2 separate regions of the Homo sapiens genome follow, and region 2 is linked to region 1. The links are contacts of gene promoters, found by promoter capture Hi-C in human tissues and cell types (Jung and others, 2019). All regions are on one chromosome and are shown on one strand. The core of a region is centred on a gene start or on the middle of the fragment in contact, and the rest is flanking DNA. Distances in the headings are between cores, read along the strand shown.

Region 1 (5,724 bases), core at 1,402-3,901:
GAAGGAAAATGTCTTACTACTTAAATCATTACCAAGTCGAACATTTTAGAGGCTTTCATCCCTCTTCTCTCAAAAAAACTTTAAAAAGGAACTGGATTTAACATAATGTGATTTAATTTTAAAATCTTCTGATGTATACAAGAACTGAAATGGTTTTTGGAACCACAGTAACACTTGCAAAAGCAATACTCTCAGAAAAACAAAAAAAAAAACAAAGAAACAACAACAACAACAAAAAACATTAAACAGCACAGCTGCTTACCCAGTTTATTGAATCCTGCAGCATTGTAATACCATTTTCGAATACCATCCAGCCACTTGCCTGATGCTGAAACTGATAATTGTCACACTGTTAATTGCTACAATTTAATTATACTATATGAACACATTGATAGGCAAGCAACCAGTACTCAGTTATCTTGCTGATGAATGCAAACATAGAAATAAATTTCCTTTTAAAAGTATATAGTATATACAGCAAGAATTTAATCAAAAGAATTAGATTTAAAAGAAAAAAGTTTATACTCTATAAAATGTTGATAAAAAGTGCTTATTTTATTTATGAGCAAAAGTGGTTGCAGGAAAATGGTGGCAAGTCATGAAAGAAAAGGGTAAACTCAAACACTGAATGTACAAAAGATCCATAGGTACATCGTGTGCCCTTATGCCTGCCCTGTTACCTTCAGAAATGAAGGGGTGGGAGATAGGAAAAGGACTTGGAAATTTCCATCATTTGTAGTTTCATAAATAGATCACAGGAAATAATTGTAAACTTTTCATTTCAAGAGAGCTGGAGTTGTAGGGAAAAGACAGTGAGATTTCAGCATAGACTGGCAGGTCTAAATGACCCTCATCCTCTAAAATTTTTACTCGATATTACAGTTATTTCATTTGGCCACATTCTTTAAAAATGTATGTATTTTGGGGAGGATTTTGATACCATTAGTCATTTAAACATTAATATGGATTCGTAAAAGAAGTCCATTTACCTCCTCCTAAGCAACTAAGTTCCCCCCAAGGGAATGGATATTGAAAAAGGATGAGAAATAGGTAATTTTAAAACTGTTTGGGGAACAGGGCTGAGCCTGATGAAGTAACCCAGCAGGGTCCAAGTACAGCAGGACCGTATCTGACATTTTAGGAGAGACATTTTACAAAAGGAGAGGTAGAACAGGTTTGTATTCTCTTTTAAAATTTTGTCTAGGGTTAGCCCTTACCAAGGAAGGAAAGCAAACTCTCCTTTCACTCAACTCTCCTTGCTTGCAAACTCAGTGCACTACAGATTACGTGGCTTTAGCAAATCTCCTTGGAAATTAAGAGTCATGTATAAAACTGCTGCTAGAAAAACAAGTATCAGTCAACAATCTACAAACATACTTGTGGAAGACAGATTATATTCAACCACCTATCAGTGACTATAATAATATTCACTAAGCACTTATTGTGCACCAAACACTTTCCTATTTGCTTTACCAACATTAGCTGATTTATTTACATGTCTGTTACTACAGAAGGGGAAGCTGGCTTACAGAAGTGATCCCACCCAAGGTCAGAGTTAGCTAATGGGAGTTGAGATCTGGTCTATGTAGTTCCCAAACACGCACAGAAGCAGTGTCTTGAATTTAGTAAGACTCCTTCAATATCTGCCAAATTAATAAAATAATTATTTAAAAAGTCTCCCCCACCCCCAAAAAGCTCAATGTCAATTAGGTTAACGGATGTTTCTGGCAACCTGATGTTTCCTAACAGCTTCACAATTGCTGGGGGCGGGGAGAAAAGGATCAACATTTTTTAAGCTACTCCAACTTGGTTGCATTGCAGTGAGACGAGATTGTGCCATTGCACTCCAGCCTGGGCGACAAAGCAAGACTCCGTCTCAAAGACAAAACAAACAAACAAACAAAACGGCTACTCCAACTTGTACCGCCAGAGGGCAGAGATTAGCAAAAAAAAAAAAAAAGAAAGAAAAAAGAAAAAAAGAACCTACAATAAATTCAAATTTCTCCAAACCTACTGATCAAGCTGACGCTCTAGATAATCCAAGGTCAACCTGAAGCGTCGCTCGTATCCCTTGCTCAACTGTCTCTGATTCGCAGTTTGAGAAGCGCGAGGGGTGCAATGATATTTCCAATTCTACTTCCTTGGGTCACTTTGCCTCAGTTATCTTATCAGCGTAAAAGGGAAATTAATATCTCCCTCGTCGCAATGGCAAGAAAATTTATAGGGCCAATGCACACGATAGAGCACTTGGGTCATAGAAAGCACTGAGCTCATTCGGGTTGAAAGTCATCCACTAGTTATCCTCTTGTGCCCTTTAACTTTTCTAAGGCCAAGGGGAAGGACTTCCAAGCACGGGCAGCTGGAACTCCAGGGCTGTCAGAGCCACCGCGGGCACCTTCACAAACAGCGGGTTAACATCCCAACCCTATACAGGCAAGCCCGCCCTGGGGACAGCAAACGAGTGGGGAAGCACATCCTTTTCACTGGACTGAAGCAGCCAATTTCCCTTCCGCGACAAACTTGGCCACTTACAAAGAAGAGAGAAAACGGAGCAAGCTGCAGCAAAAATAAACGGTGAAGCGCGACGATGCCGGCCAAGAAGACCCCCAGTTACTTACCGGCCTGCTTACCAGCCATTTTGACCAGAAAGAGAAGCGTTGCCTTCTGGGTAAGTCATAGAGGACAAGCTGGGCCCAGTCCGCAGGCGCGTTACGTCACATCGCGAACAGAGAAAGGCCGCTTGCGCAGGCGCAGTTCTGACGACTGCCGTTCAGCACCTGCGTAAGCACCTCTCGGCCAGGGTGAGGCCAATGGAGTAGGCGGGGCATTTTGCGTGCTACATTCTAAGAAGTATTGGTTGTGATGTGATGGGAAGAACACAGGTCAGGAATTAGGAGACCAAGGCTTAAAGCTGGGTTCTGTTATTTGCTGTTAATAGCTATGGGAGCGTGGACAGTATTAATTCAGCTCTTTGTGCCAGGCAGGAAGCTAAATGTTTTAAGGGCATCGTCTTACTTTCTATTGAAGGACTGATGGATGTGCCATCCCAAAAATATATGGAATTGGTACATTGATTATTTCGAGTTGAAAATATTGGAGAAATTGTAGTTTCAGAAAAGGTTTGATGACCTATCTCTTCCTGCATGCAGCAAGCCATAAAGCTTCCTCCAGGATTCCTCTGGAGTACCCGTCCCTTACCAGAGGGAGAAAATAGCACCTATCACCAGAGACGAAACTGGGGGCTGCTTTGGACCTGAATATACTTTCCGAAGTAACCGTTATCTTCCACTAAGTTTACACCCCAACACACACACTTTTCTCCTAATGACTCCGCGAGAAATTTACTGCCCCTAGCCAGATCCCCTTTCTTCTGATTTGTAGTTCGTGTAAAAAGTATAAAGGCATCTTACATTGGCCACTTCACTCTTTTGTGCGGATCCCCATGTACATGTAAAACTAGTAAAATTAGTATGCTTTTCTCTTGTTAATCTGCCATGTGTCAATTTGGTTCCTAGATTCAACCAAAGAGCCCACATAAGAGCAAAGGGGAGGGAGGGTTGGAGGTGATCTCTCACTCCCCTAAACTATCTTTTAATTCTAAAAGTACTGTAATTATCTCATTGTAGAGAGGAGAAAGCTGAGGCTCAGAAAGGTTGAATAACTTGTCCAAGAGCACATGACTAGAAGAGTCCAGGTTCTTCTTCCAGAATCTGAAAATCCAGATGCAAATTTGGGGCTCCTTAATTCTAGGGTCATATGCTATACTGCTACACTACTAATCCAGGAAAGACACCAAGCCTTTCAGGCCTTGGGTTTCTCCAGCTGAAGATCTATATCTAGCTATTTTAGTGGAAGGTTAGGTCAGAAAAGGTTTTGGGTTTTTTTTGTTTGTTTTTTTTCACCCTTTTTTTTGTTGTTCAGCCTCTGTCACCCAGGCTGAATGGCACAATCTCGGCTCACTGCAACCTCTGCCTCCTGGGTTCAAATGACTCGTGCCTCAGCCTCCTGAGTAGCTGGGACTACAGGTGTACACACTACCATGCCCGCTAATTTTTGTATTTTTAGTAGAGACGGGGTTTCACCGTGTTGGCCAGGCTGGTATCAAACTCTTGACCTCAAGTGATCCACCCACGTCAGCCTCCCAAAATGCTGGGTTACCCGCGTGAGCCATCATGCCCAGCAGAAAAGGTTTTTAAAGATTAAATCTAAGATGTATTGCAGAATTTGCACACAATTTTAAGACAAAAGAGAAGTATATAGATTTTCTCACTTTTAAGGTCTCAACCCCAACATGCGAAGTCTTAGGCATAAACATCTAGAGACAGAAAACAATTAGGGGGAGCTAGCATGACTGATAGTTACTGGTGAACTTCTACCATTACTCAGTGATATCTTTTTTTTCCCCTCAGTTTTAAGCTCAGAGCTGGGACAATATAGAGTAGAACCTTGTCTCATCCTAAGTTCAAAAGGTTAGATTTAACGATCTTAGTCACATTCCAGTTCTAAAATTATATTGATTTTCCTTTTTCTTCTATCTCCATGCTGTCACAATTTCTTCATTAGTCAGTCCTGTATACAGCACTAAAGCTGATGAATGATCTATCTTACACTAGCCAAAGTGAAGTCTGAAAGATGTGAAGAAATGCAGTACATTTGTACATTGGCACATTGCCCTGCAGAGGGTAGGTACTCAATAAACTCTCCTCCCTTCCACCCTTTAAGTTTTAGCTTGCTGGTTACAGGTGAAGGTGGCAAGAAAAGACATATCAAAAGATCTGAAACCCAAAATTGTCACAAAATCCAGCTCCTAAGGAATTAAGCTAGAGAGACTGAATGTTTGCTGGTAGTGATTGTTGATTCAAAAACTATTTTTGGTTTTCTTTCCTCCCAGCACAGGATTAGGGATTGCCTCTCTGCCCTATTAAAGTTAGGCATGGCCATGTGATACTTTGGCCAAGAAAAATGTGATAACTTTTTAAGAGCAATTCTTCACATTCCTTTCCTTTTCCATAGACTGGCAACACTCCAGAAATGATGGAGACAGGATACATCAACCTGTATCACTGAAGATGATGTGGAGCAGAGCCTTTGTGGTCCTAAGAAACATGTATAAGATAAAAACTTTTGTGGTTTTTCAATCATTTGAGGTTTTAGGATTGTTCATTGTATCAACACAACTTGCCTATTCTGACTGCTAAGGTTGTTCACTGGGTTATTCATAAAGGCAAAATGAGGTTGTGAGCCACAGAAAGAGAGGACAGGATGGTTCCATGGTGTCCCCAGCTTATTTTTTATTGTTTCCTGTTTATTGATCTCATCCATTGGAGAACTCCATGAAAGCACATATCTATGCCACACTCACCACTGTATTATAGAACTCAAATGTCGGTTGCATGAATAAAATATGTAACAGGAAGGCCACTATACCTGGCCCTGACCAATTACAAATTTAGTTTTTCATGAGGTTTTTTAAAGGGCATCCAGCACACCACAGAACCCTGTGCACAACAAACTACCCCCAAAGTTAGCGGCTTAAAACACTTTCTCCCAATTCTGAATTCCGCTGGGTCGTTCTGCTTAGTGTAGTATCTACTAAGTCTGGGACATCCCAGATAATTTCTTCATGCATGTCTGGTGCTCAGTTGGCATGTCTGAAAAAGCTGGGTTTGGCCAGACATCTTTCTGTCCACCTAGTTTCTCCAGCAGAGTAACCAGACCTCTCTA
Region 2 (5,833 bases), core at 1,473-3,972, 1.8 Mb before region 1:
CTTATATACTCAATCCACTTTTTCCCATTCTTTTGTCTTTTTTCCAGCGTCTCACTCTTGACTTCAAACACCCATGGTCCCCTTCACTGCTGAAATTACACCCACCCCATTCTACAACTTGGCTTAAAAATCCCTTCTCAACAAAACCCCAGCAAAAATAGAAATTCTTAAGTAACATACATATTAGAGATTTAATATAAATTTAATATGTATGCTTTAAGAATTGAGGTTTTATTTCCATGAATACTAAAATAACAATACTTATAAAATACATAAAATTTTAATTTTGTTCATTCTGATTTTTACTGTGAAAGAAATTTTTTCCAGAACAGGACATTCAAAATGAATTAAGACATGTCTTTAAATCACACAGCCAAAATATATAATAGCTTCAATGGAATACCTTATCTATTTTGCTGGAACAAAAATAGAGAGAGAATGGGGGTAATTGATGTAATTATCCTGATTTCACAACCTAACAATCTTTAAAGGCAATTTTAATGAAAGAAATGCTTCTAATATTTAAATCTAGAGAATGTTTTAGTGGATATTTACTTCTATCGAATAGCGGGATGGAAATTACACAAAGAAAAACTAAGTGCTGGTCTCTGCTCTGCCATAAATAGCTTTGTTACCCTAAGTAAGTCATTGAGTTCTCCCTGGACCTGTTTCATTACCCCTAAACTGCAGAGATGGAAAAAAAGTGTTCTCCAAATATCTTCCATCTCTAAAATCCTAGGATTTACTCCTTCAAAAGATAAAAGCATAAAAACCAATGTCATACAGACAAGCTTCTTGGTATTAGGTTAGTATAGCTCCTAAATTAGACTGACTTAAAAATCTCTAATTATAGCTTTCAAAGTTCTAACTAAAAATGTTGAAGACTCAGAACTTTGAAAGAATATGTGTTTGTATATGCATTTGTGTATATCTTAGTGATCAGAATAAAATATCTTTTGTAAGGTCAACAATTAAACTTAGGGAAAAAAAAAAGAAGACAATAAAAACTATAACCATGCCAACCAACCAGTAAATTTTAATATCTCAAAAGAAAATAATTAGAAAATTATATCTAAAAAGTTTTTCCATAATAGAGATTAACAACATTTTTCAAGAACGTGTATTCTGTTTCAGGATATTCCCAAATTAAAGTAATTTGGCCAAAATCAAAATTATCAAATTGCAAGATTGAAAAAAAAACTTAGAGACTGTTATATTCAGGTAGATCATGCCGTAAGCGAATTGCTTTCAGCTTCTCCACTTCAATTTTTGCTCTTAGTAGCTCTTCCTCTAGCTGCTGCCTTCTTTTCAATCCATCCCTCTTCTCCTGAACATACAATCCAAAATTTTTTTGATTTTCTAAAATTATCTGATGCTCCTCTTTCAACATTTGCAGGATCTGAGGATCATACCCTAATAGTGACCTAAAGTGTTCACCACTCTCATGCCGAAAAAAATCATCTCTCCTTGGAATAGAAGATGGAGACGATGTCATTCTCATATCAACAGAGGAAAGTGAAGGCGACAAGGATCTTTCCATAACATGTACTAATTCATGTTCTTCTCTTTGCTCTAAAGTATCACTCTGTTGAGAATTTAAAACCAGTGGAGGAGGTGGTTTAATGTCTTCTTCTTGCTTCACCTCCACTGTAATAGCAACAGGATGGTGATCCAACATTACCTGTAGTGAACTGGTACCAGCCTGTGCCTCCTCATCCAAGTTTGCACTATAGCACACAAAAAAGCATTATAATATGTAAATCAAATGAAGAAAAAGTGTATATTTATAGCATAATTTTAATTTAATGTACATTAAATGATAAAGCTTTAAAACTATAAAGTTACAAAATAAAAAAAAATCTTAAACACTTGAAATACATTAAAGTGACTAAGATTGGGATTTCAATAATACATACTCACAGATCTCCCCCATCCTTAACTTTAAAATTGTGCTTTAAAGGAGCAGGAAATTACAAATATTATAGAAGGCCAATGAAGAAAATAAAAAGAAAAGCCAGTTTTCATGTTGTCAAACAGACACCAATCTTTCCCACAACCCTAAGGTTTTCAAATGGTGTACAGAGCCATTTAATGCATTCTCAGTCTTGTTATCCCCATACCTTAGCCCTAGACCTCAGGCTTCTGCTCTCCTGGACTGATCTTAAAACCATGAAGGCCCATAACTTATAAAAGGACAGTGAAAGGCCATCTATGGGAGGTACTGATTTCTGCATTTGCCCAAAAAATAAAACATAAAGATTGTATATGGCTTTGGGATATGCTCAACTACTGGAGGTTATCCTAACTTTCTTATTTCAGATGCTTTTATCTGATAGGAAAAACTTCCGTTTTACCTATTCTGAACCATATGACTCAGATGCTGTTTAAGTCTTTCAATCACTGGTCAGGTAAAGTTCACAAGAGCAATGGTTTTAATCCACAACTGTATACTCAGTACCTAGCAGGTACTGTACTTAGAACCTAGTAGGTGCTCATTATGTGTTGAATGACTGAAAAAAAACAAACTAAATGATTTTTTAATGAAACATTTTTAATGGCCTATACAGATATATTAAAGGTTTATTAAATTTACACATAATTTCCACCAAATATGCATTCCCAATGGAGACAACTACAGCTTTAGCATAATTTAAGCTTCAGCATAACAAGTTATGATATTATAAATGCAATAAACCTTAAAATTCTGTTTTATAAACATAATTTTATGTATAACGTGAAGCTGTGAATTAAGAATATCTGCTCCTTGAGGTTGTTTTTTTTAATTTATGCTTCTGCCTAACTTAAAAATAAAAGTTATAAAGGGAAATTAGATCATTGAACATGAATGGAAATACTTTATTTAATATTATTTAGAGAAGATTTTACATATAATAAGAAACATAATTAAAAGAATACATTCTACATGGATGATTAAAATGCTGGAACAAGTTCAAGCAGAATGCATAGAAAAAGATTAAAACTACCCATACGTTACTTACTAATGCCATTAAATTGCCAGAAATATCAGATATTTATCTAAGAGACAAAATGAAACATATATAGTATATAATAAAAAATCTATTTGTAGGTTATATAAATTCATTTTTGTTCTTGTCTCTGTTTGTGTCATTTTATTATTTCCAAAAACAAAACAATTAATTATAAATGTAATTCAAAGTAGCAAGCTCTGCTTCTATTAATAGCTCTGCTAAAACCTGGAATGGGAAAAGGCTAAAATTGCATATGAAAATTAAGTTTTTAAAACCACATAATTACTATTTCAAATTAGTATGTAAAATAGAGAGTATAAACATAGACATAATACTACCAAGTAAATTAAAAATATGCCTCATATCTGGAACATTCCTTTCCATTTTAGCTAAAACATTACAACTAAGGCATAACAATATAAAAAGGGAGAAAAAAAGCTTTAGAGCAGGTCACAAAAATGACAGAGAAGGACTTGAGAATCAGAACTTTGAAGATCAGTTTACAAAAACACAAAATATAAACTGATATTAGGAAGAGGTAAAAATAAAGACATAAGTCAATGTGAGTTACAGAAAATAAATAGCCTTACAAAACAGGTATATATTTTTAAGTATGTTAACGCAAACACTAGTATTTTCCTTATTAAAAAGGAAGAGTTTGGTAAGATTAACAGGCATATTTATGTAGAAGTATAGTTAAGATTATAGAATAATTATAAACTTCTGAGATTATTAAGATTCAAGGATGATATCAATCAAATAAATATAAGCACATTAAATATATATATTAAAGAAATAAGCTAATACAGAGAAAATGTCAATGTAGACACAGTAACATAAGAATTTAAAAGGCATGTTTCTTATATTCTTCCCTTTAAAACCTAACAAATTGGTATTATTTAAGCCATAGGTATAGAAATGTACAAATCAACTCATTTTTATCAGAGAAATGTTCATATCCCAAAAGATTTTTTGTGTGTGAATATTGTAAATATTCACACACACAAATAGTCAAAATGTAACCAGATACTTGTATATTTATATATTATTTTTCTTCTACTCACTGTTATTTTTAAAATATGCAACTAACTAAAATTACAGTTTCTACATGTCGTTTTCAAATTATAAAAACCTATACCTACTAACCAAAGGGTACAGTTTTATACCTGCGATGCAAAAAACACTTTTCTCCATGGTTCAAGGGAGAGAAAATTCTGCATAAGTAGCACAGTATAAAACAATTTTACTGCGTAGTTTTCTGGATATCTAGCTATTGGGATTTCATCATTTGTCATCACAGTGAACATTTTAACCAGTGGCCCCAAGAATTAATCCACTGTGTATTCATGTCCTGGATTCCCACTGGTGATATTTTTTTTACTGTGCTATCAAGTAGAAATAAGCAGTATCTGGTAAGAAGCTAGGCTCAAAAATACTTTCCTAGTAAATTACCAAAATAACATATGCACTTGGCTACAAAGTGGTTTTTTTCTGCTTCTCTCCTAATTTCAAAGGGATTTCATAGTAATCAATAATTTGCTTATATAATGCCTCTTCCACCAATAGAAAAGCACATTGTGTAAAGCTTTGTTTGAAAGGCTCCTCAAACTAACAAGGAGTTTACAATTTGTTTAAATTACCCTAAATGGTTCAGAATAAGAATGTAGCTGCCATTTTTATATTTTGCCAGAGGTTACAATCTGAATTAGTGGCAAGATAATACTTTTGAAAATTCCAAGGCAAATAGTTACATAGAAGACAAGTTTAACCAAAAAATTGCTTCTAACTCTAAAAAAACCCAGTTGCTCTTAGGGGTATTTTAAAATTCATAATTTGATATCCTTGCAAAGCAGTAAGAGAAAGCTTACTCTTTCCTATACGACCCAAGATCAAAGTGAAACTAGACTATTAAGGAATAAAAACAACAACAACAAAAAACTTTTAATTTTATTAAGTAAACTGAATCCCTAATTAGGCATTAACTCCCTTTAGTTGTGTTCATCTTTATTTTAAACGTGTTAGAAAAATAATTTAAACTGTCTTCATATACACAATCATGCCATTAACAAGTTTACTTATTGATTTTGTTTATATTTGTTAGTTAACATATATTCAATAAGTGTAGACAATGACAATTCATAAAAAAGCAAGGTTCCATTTCTCTAGAAACTGCTAACTTTATATAAATTTTATATAAAATTGAAAATTCCAGTGAAATGTAATCTTAAATGAGAAAAAAAGTATCTCTCAGAAGCAAACTAAATAATTTAATTTTAAAGCTTAAGAAGTTTATGAAGTGATGTCACAAATTTCAACCCACTTATTCCTCCCTAACCTTTACTTTTAGAAACTACAGGAGGGAAGGGGGAGGGGAAGACAGTAAAAAGTAGCTTAAATGCAACAGAAAAATTCCTCATAGCCTCACTTTTCTCTTTTTAAAAAATGCAAAACAAAGACACTATTCATTGCTCCCGTTGTGGGGATGCTTACTATGCATATCTCTATCACGACTAAGCCAAAGCCCAATAGATAGGAGGCGCCATAATTTTCCATAACAAAACAAAATAAAGCTTACCTTTGTATGTGGTTCCTGTCTCTTACCAGGCAAAAACTGGAAATCTGGGGAATCATCTCCATAACTTTCTTGGTTGGCTCAGAAATATTGCTTTTAAAATCTGATTGGGTCTCTTTTTGCTGCAATAGCTCCTGTTTGGCATATTCTTTGAGCCTTTTATAAAGGGTGCGTAGGCCCTGTGCTGTTCGAGGAGGGCGGTCTACTCCAATTGCATTATAGTTAACTGCTATGATATCCCAACATCTATTCTTTTCTACTATTACTGAAT

What was found. Contacts are between HindIII fragments. The study calls those that stand out against the background at their distance.
Region 2: a fragment that was not itself captured here is called in contact with the fragment with the promoter of UQCRB in region 1 in 1 of the 25 tissues and cell types used here (hippocampus).

Annotation. Positions count from the first base shown.
Region 1 is chr8:96,232,894-96,238,617 of GRCh38, forward strand. It overlaps UQCRB (ubiquinol-cytochrome c reductase binding protein), which reads right to left and starts at 2,652. Exons shown (of 4, transcript NM_006294.5): 1 at 2,619-2,652; 2 at 263-334. The coding sequence starts at 2,637. UQCRB-AS1 (UQCRB antisense RNA 1) reads left to right here and starts at 2,400. Exons shown (of 2, transcript NR_183275.1): 1 at 2,400-2,668; 2 at 5,014-5,724. RefSeq lists an enhancer at 2,379-2,658. The HindIII fragment of the contact is 10,908 bases long and covers 1-5,724 here.
Region 2 is chr8:94,430,930-94,436,762 of GRCh38, forward strand. The region is part of intron 3 of RAD54B (RAD54 homolog B); the gene reads right to left. It overlaps FSBP (fibrinogen silencer binding protein), which reads right to left. Exons shown (of 2, transcript NM_001256141.2): 1 at 5,566-5,833; 2 at 1-1,727. The coding sequence ends at 1,202. Among named protein-coding and RNA genes, the nearest start is that of FSBP, 3.1 kb to the right of the region's middle. RefSeq lists an enhancer at 3,871-4,371. The HindIII fragment of the contact is 5,994 bases long and covers 1-5,719 here.